Regions from separate parts of the Homo sapiens genome. Here all the other regions are linked to region 2. The links are contacts of gene promoters, found by promoter capture Hi-C in blood cells and fetal thymus (Javierre and others, 2016). All regions are on one chromosome and are shown on one strand. The core of a region is centred on a gene start or on the middle of the fragment in contact, and the rest is flanking DNA. Distances in the headings are between cores, read along the strand shown. Region 1 has its middle 22 kb from the start of CAVIN3. Region 2 holds the start of OR52L1 (olfactory receptor family 52 subfamily L member 1). Region 3 holds the start of CCKBR (cholecystokinin B receptor).

Region 1 (3,624 bases), core at 386-2,885, 310 kb before region 2:
TAAGAAAAGGTCTCACTCTCTGCTGTTAGGAATACATGTTTTGATAATGACGGTGGTCCTACACACACTCAAGCAAGCCATAAATACCCAGGAGGGCATATACTGTGGTGAAAGATGAAGGCCTTTTTTCTGAACTGGACAAGTATCCTCAGCATTTTTCCAGCAAGCCATTATCATTACCGTCATCTATGCATTGACAATAGGATATATTAGCCATCGCTAAAGTGGGGTGCACAATCTCAGGGGCTACTCAGGACAGCCTTTTGAAATTTCCATTTTGATGATGAGATACCTGGTACAACTTCTCAGCACATTACAATGTCTGCCAAAATAGTGTCAGGACACCTCAGTCAATAGAACAGAAAAAACACCAAGTGCTTCTGAACAGGGATGTCATCATAAAGCTTCTAGAAAGTTTCTGCGCTAGGTTGCTGGGAAAGTCGCCAGACTGGGCTGCCTCAAAAGTCTCTGATACTTTGCCTTAAAGTCTCTAGGCCCTCTGTGGCTAAAACAAAGACGGGGACAAGCCATTAAAGGATAATTTAGTTCTAAGTAGCCATTAAAAGATAATTTTCATAAACAGGTAAGATCAGTACTCTTATACAGATATAAGAATAAACATGAGTTAAAGTTTTTATTTAACTAATTCATGAGGAAAGCAGTGAAGTATTACAACCAGGTGAAAGGAGAATCCCAAGGACAGACACATTTATAGATCCGGAATATTAAAATGACTGTGCAAATACAGCCAGATGGGGTTTTTTTTGTTGTTGTTGTTGTTTTACCGGACAGCATTCATTTGCATATCTATAGACAAGAATGATTTAGCATTGCTGCCAGTTATCTACACTTTATAGAGCTGCAAAACAGCTCCCACAGAATTGGAATCAGACAAGTCAGGTGTGCTCTGGAATGACAACACGTAATTTTCAAATTAAGCACAATTTTTTCCTTATAGTCCCCCCACTTTTTATTACAAAGAACCTCAAAGATTCTTGATGACAAAATGAGTATGGTCTTATTAGATTCGGCCTGGTTCTTTAAACAGGTGCAGCAAGACTGTTAACCATATGGGCCTTCTTTAAGTTTTTTCCGCTAGAGGTTCTCTAAGAAATCTCAGCTTGATCTTTTACAAGCTTCTATTCATTTGCTGTCTTGAAGCTAAGATGGTAAGTCCAAGGAAATTTCTCCATAAGATTTCATCTGTAGTATCTATACATTTTGGCCTAATTCCTTTCTTCTTGAATCTTCCTTCCTTCCTTCCTTTGCCATGTTGGCCAGGCTCGTCTCGAACTCCTGACCTCAGGTGATCCACTCGTTTCAGCCACCCAAAGTACTGGAATTATAGGCATGAGCCACCGTGACCAGCCTCTTCTTGAATTTTTCAAAACCTCTCAAGGCTCTTGGCCTGCCACGAAAGTGACCTCCCTTACCACCTCCAAGGCTGGATCCTGGATAAATCCAGGTACCAGGACGGTTTTCCTTGGACAGATTTGCCAGCACTGGCTCCATCAAATCAACCTTAGTTTCCTAAAAGGGGCTGATCATGCACAGGCTATGGCTTCCCTGGGCTGGCAGGAAGCTCCTCTGCAGCTGCTGTTCACAGAGCTGCAGCCTGGTGGCCACTGATGCCAAAGACTGGGTACTTGGAGCCACTGGTGCGCTGGTCAGCAGAGGGCGTGCTCCCTGCCACCTGGGCGGAGAGGACTGGGGAGGATGAAGTAGGGTGAGGTTGGTGGGCTTACTACCTTAATGCTAACTCTCACAGCTGTTTGGAGATGAGCCCACCACCACCTGCCCCTGCTTGTCTCAAATCTTTTCTAAAAAGGACAAAAGAGGCTCACCAGTTGTTCCTCGTGTTCCTGGTTACAAATTATTTGGCAAAGTTTATCCCAGAGATTATCTTTAGAAAACTTTCAAAAATAATTTAGCAAAAGTATGAAGCACAAACAGAAGGACCTGTCAACCACCATGTCAGGCTTCAAGACATAAGAATTTCGAATCTGAACCATTTTTACCTGTACTCTGATTTCCAGGTATGAGCCATCATATGATTGATTACTGCTTTTATGTTCTGCTTAAGAAATCTTTGCCCACTCCAAGGAAATCTTGTCAAATCATTAGAAGAAGCTTTAGGTCACCAACAAGAATGTGGGACTGTGAATCAGTCTCAAAATCAAGAAATTAAAGCAGTCAAAAAAAAGAAAGAGAGAGAAGGAAAGAAAGAAAAAAAGAAAGAAGGAAAGACAGAAAAAAGAAAGAAGGAAAGAAAGAAAACAGTAATTTAAACAGGAAGAAAATATTGCCAGTTGCAGTGGTTATTTGGACCAGTGAAAAATAAGGCATAGTAGGAGAAAAGGTAAATTATGTTCAGGGGTTGCCCCCTAGTGTTCCTGGGCAAATTTGTAGTCTCACTGTAGGAAATGAATGGATTATCATTCCTGACCTTTATGAACTAGTCCTCTCAAGAGGAAAGGAGTGGTGAAAAAACTTTGGTGAAACAAGTTCTCTCTGAACACATCATTCTCTCTGATAGAGAAGGTGTACCTGTTGGCGATCCTGGTGCTGGTCTGGAATTAAGCTGGACAGATCCTATGCATTGCCATCTCTCTACCTACATCTTTTAGAAGAGTGGCCATTTCATGATGTTTTACATAGTATGGTAGCAGCATATTTATGTTACAGTCCTGATGTTAGTTATGTCCAAGGATGCATGTCATTGTGGTAATGCTCATTCTCAATTTGGAAGAGACCAATGCCTTCACTGCATTTGCAAAGATCTCATAAATAAGTCACGCCAGTTGGTCTTCTGTGTGGATCACAGCAAGGTGTTAAGATATTTTGCAACGTTTGAAGTATTCTCTGAAGACAATTTCTTCAGATTGTTTCTTCAAGTCTTATGGCCTTACACCAGGCACATGCTTAATAGATAGGATCTTCACACTGTATCATAAATCACTACTCTACTTGATCTGTTCTATCCAGTCTGAGATGTTTTACAGAGACAGGAAGAAATTTTTATTTAGAACTGGACTAGGAACCCTTCATCTGTATGAAGATAGTTTCCTACAGATGGACTTGATTCATATTGCACCTTGTCTAACTAAACGGGCAGAGGCTATCATATCAGAAAAGCTGTTTAGCTGTATTGCAGTCACCTGGACACAGAAGAGTACCAAGAAATGGCCCTAGGTCTTTGTGTCTGTAATGAAGCATATTAAAGAAGGAGATAAGGATATTTTTAAAATGTAGCATATTTAAAGTATTAGAAGTTCAAATCCATTATTTTCTGGGAATTTTAAGAATATTCTTTTTATATAAGTGCTTATTTATCTCTATCAGCCAATCAGAAAAGAGCCTCTTTAAAAAGAGATTGATAATCTAATTTATTAGTATTATCTAGAGGTAGGAAAATTTTACATACTTACACTGTGAAAGGTAAAGATCTTTCTAAATTATGGACACATAGACAAACAGAGACAAAGAAATCTTATACTTCAATTAAAAATTCCATCATGGGTTAAGGGTAATAAAGAAACCCCAAAACTCACCAGTCTCAGTATGAAAGATTTGTTCTCCTTCCCAGTGAGCCCAGGATTCTTAATTCATTTGGGCTTAAAGTAG
Region 2 (3,853 bases), core at 199-2,698:
CAAAATTTAAACTAAGTCTGTCTTCCTCCATTGCTTTTATTTATCTCACTACATTGTGAAATGTTCACCATGCTATGTTATAATTATAAAGTATAATAAGATATGTTTCTTTAAAAAAACAAACCATTAAGACACTGATAGAATTTCTAGAGATAAGTCAGAAAGTTATGGATGAATAAAGGAAGATTATAAAGTGCTCTGAACATAATCAATATTCATCTGACATAGGCAATGAGTCCTTTTGAGGGGTGACAGTGGACTTTGAATTTTGAAGGACCAATTCAGATAAAGGAATTTGGAGACAGACTACACAAAAGGCATAGGTAAGCTTGGTGTGTACATGTAACTCCAAGAATGCAGGGATGGTTAGTAAAACATATGTAGAAATATATCAACTGTAAGACAAAAGTAATGCAAAAAAGATAACTTTTGATAATCTTTTATGCCAGTCTCAAAGTATGATTTTATTCCATGCAATAAATTCACCAAAGGATTTTAATCTTAGGAGTGATATGATGAGATCTGCATTTTAGAAAAAAAACCCATGACTTCAGGGTTGAGAGTGAATTGGGAAGGTGTTTATGGCAAAGGCAGAAAGATGTTATGAAATAGTCCAGGTGAGAGAAGTTGGGTGTAAACTAAGGTAGTGATATTGGGGGTTGAGAAGAAGGAGTGGATATAAGAGGGGTTAACATAAAGTCAACATGAATTGGTGAATGAATAAAAGGGGATGAGGATTATGAGTAAAGACAGGTTCCAAGTTTTTAGATTGGGTTGTGTAGGTAGCTAGGGATGTAATTAAAAATTATTGCCAAAACATAAGTAGAACAAATTTGGGAAAAATAGGTGAATTAATCCAATGTTGAATATGTTGAGGATGTGGTGTATAGATATTCATAAAGCAAATGGAAAAATGGATTTATATTTCAGAAGGATATTTGGGTAAACAGACATAAATTTGGAAGAAATAAAAGTATATAAACAGTTAAAACCATGGGAATAAATGAAGTCAATTAAGAGATAATGCACAGAATAGGGAATACAGGAGAGGATGGATCCCTGGAATCAATGACATAATGAGATAGAGAAAATGGTGGGACCAAGGCTACAGGGGGAACAACTCTGGAGTGCCATGTCATGGAAACTGAGGAAGACTAATTTCAAAAACAACAGATTGATTCACAGTGGTCAGTAATACCAAGAGGCTAATAAAAATAACTCTTTGAAGTTGACAGTTCCAAAATATAAGCAACTGAATAGTAGAGTTTAAGCATCTCTCCAAAAGCAGCTTATGTTTACTCTTATCTCTAAACAAAACTAAGCTTGTATTAATTCAGACATGTGGATGTCTCACTTGTAAAAGAATTATCTCCACCAAAGGAGATTTTCTTCCCTGTAGCTAACTTTATTCCCTTCGTTTGCAGTTGAAGTCACTTTATTCTTCTCAGGATGATGGTTGCCCCATTTGGACAATGTGATAATGTAGCAGGAATGCAGAAATCATGACTTTGGTTTCTTTTTTCTCTTTCCTCTCCAAGCCATTGATAATGCTCCTTAGCAATTCAAGCTGGAGGCTATCCCAGCCTTCTTTTCTCCTGGTAGGGATTCCAGGTTTAGAGGAAAGCCAGCACTGGATTGCACTGCCCCTGGGCATCCTTTACCTCCTTGCTTTAGTGGGCAATGTTACCATTCTCTTCATCATCTGGATGGACCCATCCTTGCACCAATCTATGTACCTCTTCCTGTCCATGCTAGCTGCCATCGACCTGGTTCTGGCCTCCTCCACTGCACCCAAAGCCCTTGCAGTGCTCCTGGTTCATGCCCACGAGATTGGGTACATCGTCTGCCTGATCCAGATGTTCTTCATCCATGCATTCTCCTCCATGGAGTCAGGGGTACTTGTGGCCATGGCTCTGGATCGCTATGTAGCCATTTGTCACCCCTTGCACCATTCCACAATCCTGCATCCAGGGGTCATAGGGCGCATCGGAATGGTGGTGCTGGTGAGGGGATTACTACTCCTTATCCCCTTCCCCATTTTGTTGGGAACACTTATCTTCTGCCAAGCCACCATCATAGGCCATGCCTATTGTGAACATATGGCTGTTGTGAAACTTGCCTGCTCAGAAACCACAGTCAATCGAGCTTATGGGCTGACTATGGCCTTGCTTGTGATTGGGCTGGATGTTCTGGCCATTGGTGTTTCCTATGCCCACATCCTCCAGGCAGTGCTGAAGGTACCAGGGAGTGAGGCCCGACTTAAGGCGTTTAGCACATGTGGCTCTCATATTTGTGTCATCCTGGTCTTCTATGTCCCTGGAATTTTCTCCTTCCTCACTCACCGCTTTGGTCATCATGTACCCCATCATGTCCATGTTCTTCTGGCCACACGGTATCTCCTCATGCCACCTGCGCTCAATCCTCTTGTCTATGGAGTGAAGACTCAGCAGATCCGCCAGCGAGTGCTCAGAGTGTTTACACAAAAGGATTGATCTGAACATATTCTCATTGTTTCCTTCGGAGGCTTCTTCTGCGGACCACAGCCAGGAGCCTGTGACTGGTGTAGATTACATGAATACAGACCATTTTGCAGTGAGTATTCCTTCTAGTCTTACTAGTGCCATGCTAAAGAACACCCACAGATACTTGGCTTATTGGGATGTACCTGGATATCTGGATTTGTGAATATTTTTGCCATTTTTTCTTTTGCTCTTGATTTCAACATTTCTCTACTCCTTGTGTCAGTAGGACTTGGGGATAGGAGAAATAGATGATAGCTCTGAATGTGTCATCTTTCTCGCCTTTGCCCAATGGTAGGCCATGCAACACTGTCTGGAATTGTAAAGTCCCACCCTTTGGTTGGTTTTAGGTTTAGAGTTTCTTCAAAACCTCTAAGTTAGTGCTGGGATCCCCAGATCATTGGCTCCTGTTTACCAATAGGGTCTCTTCAAAGCAGCTGAGAAGGTCGCAGTGTAAGAAAACAGCATTTATTGCAATATGGGTATTACTTATTTATTTAAAACAAACATAAGTGGAGAAGTTATGGTAATAGGCTCTAGGAATAATAAAATATAATTTCTATTTTCAAGGAAGAAATCTATATGTGTCTAGGAAATTTATTTTAAAAGATATCTCTTTGTATTTTCAACTTATTTATATTCATGCTTTGGATAAAGAAGGAATAAGACCAAGTACTGCGTATATGTTTGTTTTATAAATATTCATTAAAAAACCCAAAAGTAACCATATAATTATTAGCATCTAATAACTACAAAATGTGCTAGATCCCGGTGTTGGTAAACATAGCTATAATAAATAAAGCAATAAGTATAGTAGCAGTTATGGACACTTAAAAATGGGTTTCTCTTTTGGAAATAGGGCATGTGGAGTGGTGTCAATTAGATCTTCTATTTCTGTTAATAGGAACTGGGTGAAAACTTAAAAGATGACTGCTACAATTGATATATTGCAACCTGTTTGTTGATGTTGCCCTGAGATCTGGCCTAATTATTTTTGTTCCTAGAAGGTAACACATTTTGTTTAGTCATGGAAGAAGTCAAGTCATTGCTACTTTGATGTAAGATGCTCGGGAGATAAGATTTATTTTGGGATTTCATATTGGTAGGAGGGGTAGAGTTAATAGTTGTTTTTTCTAGTTTTTCTTTTCTTAGTAAATTTTACTCATAATAACTAGTACTCTGTCTGAGAGGCTTAGTATCAGGCCTTTAACTTGGCCGTTGCAAGTAGATGAATTAGGGAGGACTGGTATGAGCTGTTTTTATTGCAGGAGGAATTGCACATTCTAATCAGCTTCATTCCCAGTCTAGGGCTTAAACTCTGGTAAATTGTCCTA
Region 3 (3,945 bases), core at 560-3,059, 270 kb before region 2:
TATATGTTCTAGTCACTCAAAACTATGTCACAGTGGATAAAAGTGCCATGAATTCAAACTTTGAGCTTCTTATACATCTTGTCCTTTTATTTGGGATGCTTTCTGCCTCTTCTGCCCGTTCACTTGGCTGGCTCTCCCATATGTATATGTGTGTGTGTGTGTGTGTGTGTGTGTGTGTGTGTGTATATATATTTTTTTTTTTTTTTTTTTTTGCCAACAGGAAGCTTAGAGCCAGCCTCCCTAATTTTTTTGACTTTGTAGCTCATTTCCTCAAGAGGCCAACTTTAATTCTCAAGGAGGCTGGGCTGGGCTAGAGGTGTTCCACTTGTGTTCCCACTATCTTTTCCCTGTCAAGGCTCTTCCACTTTGTGCTGCAATCCCCTGCTTTTCTGTCTCGCCCATTAAACTTTGAGCTCTGTGAAGTAGGAATTGTGTCGGTTTTGTTCAACTTACATTCCCACTGCCTAGCACAATCTCTGGTTCAATAAATATTGGCTGAATGACAGAATCCAAGTGTGAGTGTGTAACAACTCGGCTGAGAAAGCATAGATTATTTCGTGGGGTAAATAAATACTTGGATTACAATTTATTCCAACTTTCCCTTTTTGAGTTTAGAAAAATTTCCTTCTGCTTAACATTGCTCCTTCACCTAGAATCCCACTCCTTCCTTTTCTGCCTACTCAACTTCAAGACCCAGCTCTAAGGTTCTAGCCTCTGTGAAGTTCTTTTGGTGCCCACAGTTTAGACCCTTTCATGGGACTTCCATTGTGTCTGTGATTTTTCCATTTGCTTGGTTTCTCTCTGCACTTGGCTATGGGCCATGAGGGTCCAGACTGGGTCTAGTTTGCCCTGTGCCCCCAGCACCTAGCCTAGGGCTGGAGAGAGAGCTTGGAAGATAGCTGGAGACATTACTTGCAGACAAAGAGAGAGGGCACAGAGCCTCGAAAGCTCCAACTAGGGAGGCAGAGGGGTTTGAGAAGGAGTGAAATGGAGGCAGGCAGCTCTAAGGAGCATCCCCTAGTGTCCAGCCTAATTCAGATTTGAGGATCTTTTTTGGGATGGCTGGGGGCTGGGGTGTCAGATGTGATCACAACTTCAGCTTCGCATTCAAGCTTTCCAGAGTGCTCCCTCCCTCAACCAGCCCCCTTCTTTTCCCAGTCCTGCCTTCCTTTCTTCCTTCCCTTCTCTGTTGTGGCTCTGTGAACTGGATGTAAGAGGGAAAAGGAGATCTGCAGGGTTGGCAAGAGGAGGTCCTCGCCTTCTGACTGGTGTCTAGGAGGGGCTGCGTGTTGGGGAAGGGGCTGTGCTTTGGGGTGAGCAGGGGCTCTAGGTGTATTCAGGGGACCAGGATGTGAAGGAGTTCCGACCAGGTGGTGTGAAGCTGTGATGAAGTTGTAGGCTGTGGGGGTGAAGGTGTGAGGGGAGCTGTTTGGGGGCTGAGGGAGTACTATGAGAGGCACGGTGTGGACGTTTGAGAAGGTAGTGTGGAGCTCGTTGGGGGGACTCTATTAGTGTTCTGGGGTACAGTGAGAAATAGCTTGTGGGGGGGGCTGAGGGAGGCACCCACCTCGTGTCCCGGCTCCGCGAATGCGAGGGGGCTCGCAGCTGAGGTTGCCCACACTGCTGCTGTTGAGGAGAGGCGCCCCCGGGCGGCACAGGGAAGCCCCCGGCCCGGGTCCGGTTCCCTGCACGCTCCGGTTCAGCTTTAGCAGCTCCATGGCCCCCGCCGAGCCCGCCGCCTTACTCAGCTCGACCCGGCGGGCTCCCAACGCGGCTCCACCTGCTCACGCTGCGATTCCGGCTCAGGCTCCCGCCGCCCTCCTCTCCCTGCCCCCTGCCCCGCCTGGTCCCCGCCCCCAGCCCAGGCGCCTGCCCTCCACTCTCCCGCGGCTCGCCCCGCCTGGGTTCCCGTCCCTCCGCCAGCCTCTGTCCCGCCAGGTGACTGTGCACCCCCTCCCTGGCTCGGGAGTTCTGCCCCTCCCTGTGCGACTGTCCTCCAGGCTCGCCCCCTCCCTAGATGTGTCCCGTCTCCTCTTAGAGATTTCTCTCCTGCCCACCTCTCTTTATCACCCGCCCCCACCCCCGATTCCCAGGAATGAGAGAGAGAGAGAGAGAGAGAGAGAGAGAGAGAGAGAGAGAGAGAGATTGAAGACAAGAGTATTGGCAGCGTAGGGGGAGGTTTCGGGGAAGGGAGGGTAGGAGGGGTTGGGTAGAGACGGCTGCCACGGATCCAGCATCTTTCTCTGGTGTATCAGGGAACGTGGAGGTGGCGTTGGAGACCAGGTCTGCGTGCGTCACCTGCTGAGGCGCGGATGCTTTAGTCTGAGCCTAGAGCCGCATTTACCGTACTGTGTTGCAGTGGCCGCAGTGACCGTGACACTATTGCTACCGTAGTTCCCTGCAGCTCCTCGCTGCGGGCCTGGGGTAGCTCCTGCATCTGTCTCCGCACCCTCCATCTCCTGTCTGAGGCTTAACACTCAGGCTTGCACTTAAGGGTCCCAAGGAGCCCTCCACAGCTGGGCGGGAGTGGGGGTGGGGCCGGGGCCGAGATTTGGCTCCAGGGAAGCCTTGCCAGGGAAAAGGGCTCCCGGGAGGAAGCTTCTGACTTGAGTGTTGAGGGCAGTTGGGGGTGGTGGCAAGCACTGACAAGGATAAACCAGAGTAAGGTGAGGATGGGATATAATTCTAACGCCGGCCCAGCGCAGGCAAAAGAGAAGGAGAAGGTTGGCTTTCTCCACCGTCTCCAGGCAGCGCCCACGCCCACCCGACACGCTAACGCTCCCTGTTTGCTCTCAGTGCAGGCAGAGCTGCCTGTGTAGGGTGTCAGGTTCCCACGAGAGGGGGCTAGAAGGGGACTGGGTCACTGCGGTGCAGCGGGAACAGGGCTGAAGGGTGCAGGACTGAACTGGGTTCAGCTTCTCGGGGCAGGATTTGCCTCTTCTACTATTTCAGCCCTGCTCCCTATGCATTCTCCTATCCATTCCTTTTCTTCCCCAGATTCCTATCTCCAGATTCCTATCTCCAGATTCCTATCCATTCTTCAGATTCCGGATGAACTCCAATACGATGTGAAATTCTTCTGACCCCCAGCAGTAGCTGTAAGAGGTTGGGGGCGGGCATCAGTGGAAGAGCAAATTAGAGAATGGAGTCTGGCTTTATGGGGGATTCAGCAGGCCCTTATCCAATTAATCTTTTGGAGAGGACCTGGTTCAGCCAGCCCTGAGTTTATAGGGGCTGAAGCATTGAAAGAGAGTTGAAAGACAGTTTATGCCTGAGATGTCATCAACTGCTCCCCCTTTCCTTCCTCCTGGTACTGCCTGTCTTGCCCATCAGAGAGCCTGGACCAGAGGAGCTTGATTTGCTATTTGTTCCGCTCCAGCACAGGTGGGGCCTCAGATAACCTGCTCAAGTTTTCCCACATTGGATGACAGTACGATGAGGAGGGAAGGGAGCAAAGGATGTAAGGGAGAGGGGAGTGAAAATAGAAATAGATGGACATTCACTTATTTAGCAAACTATGCCAGTTCTAGGGGTATGCACTAGTTGTCCAATATAGTTTGCCCCTCAGTAGCACCTACTCTAGTGGGATTTTCCCAAGCAAGCCAATGATTGTAATATATGGTCGTTAAGTGCACCCACCAGGATGTACAAATCAGAAATTTAGGAATTATTATTGATGCCTTACTCCCCTATGCTCCTTCACCCCTGCGCTGGATGCTGTGATGCAAAGCCCAGAACCCTCTTCAAAAATGGAGGATTTATTTTCCAGCTGTGGAGAGTGCTCCTAAAAGATGGCCCTCAGCTGTCATAACCCTTCAGGAGTTGCCTAAGCAGAAGAAAGCCAGCTCATCCAAGGTTATGCTCCCTTTCTTGGGCATTCTATATCCAATGACCGATCAGCACAGAGGTATAAAAGTTTAATCCCCTCAACCCAGTGGTGGACAA

What was found. The method cuts DNA at HindIII sites, captures the fragments that hold promoters and counts their contacts. A CHiCAGO score of 5 or more calls a contact.
Region 1: a contact is called between a fragment that was not itself captured here and the fragment with the promoter of OR52L1 in region 2, in 2 of 17 cell types (M0 macrophages and M1 macrophages). The highest score is 5.6, in M0 macrophages.
Region 3: a contact is called between the fragment with the promoter of CCKBR here and the fragment with the promoter of OR52L1 in region 2, in 4 of 17 cell types (M2 macrophages, M1 macrophages, monocytes and 1 more). The highest score is 7.5, in M2 macrophages.

The regions. Positions count from the first base shown.
Region 1 is chr11:6,296,800-6,300,423 of GRCh38, reverse strand. No RefSeq gene overlaps it. Among named protein-coding and RNA genes, the nearest start is that of CAVIN3, 22 kb to the left of the region's middle. The HindIII fragment of the contact is 994 bases long and covers 1,139-2,132 here.
Region 2 is chr11:5,984,580-5,988,432 of GRCh38, reverse strand. It overlaps OR52L1 (olfactory receptor family 52 subfamily L member 1), which reads left to right and starts at 1,448. Exons shown (of 1, transcript NM_001005173.3): 1 at 1,448-2,541. The coding sequence starts at 1,503. The coding sequence ends at 2,492. It overlaps LOC124902621 (a long non-coding RNA gene), which reads left to right and starts at 3,357. Exons shown (of 2, transcript XR_007062564.1): 1 at 3,357-3,526. It also overlaps a transcript of OR56A3 not described here. The HindIII fragment of the contact is 2,597 bases long and covers 1,325-3,853 here.
Region 3 is chr11:6,257,702-6,261,646 of GRCh38, reverse strand. CCKBR (cholecystokinin B receptor) reads right to left here and starts at 1,809. Exons shown (of 5, transcript NM_176875.4): 1 at 1,568-1,809. The coding sequence starts at 1,718. The HindIII fragment of the contact is 1,486 bases long and covers 1,115-2,600 here.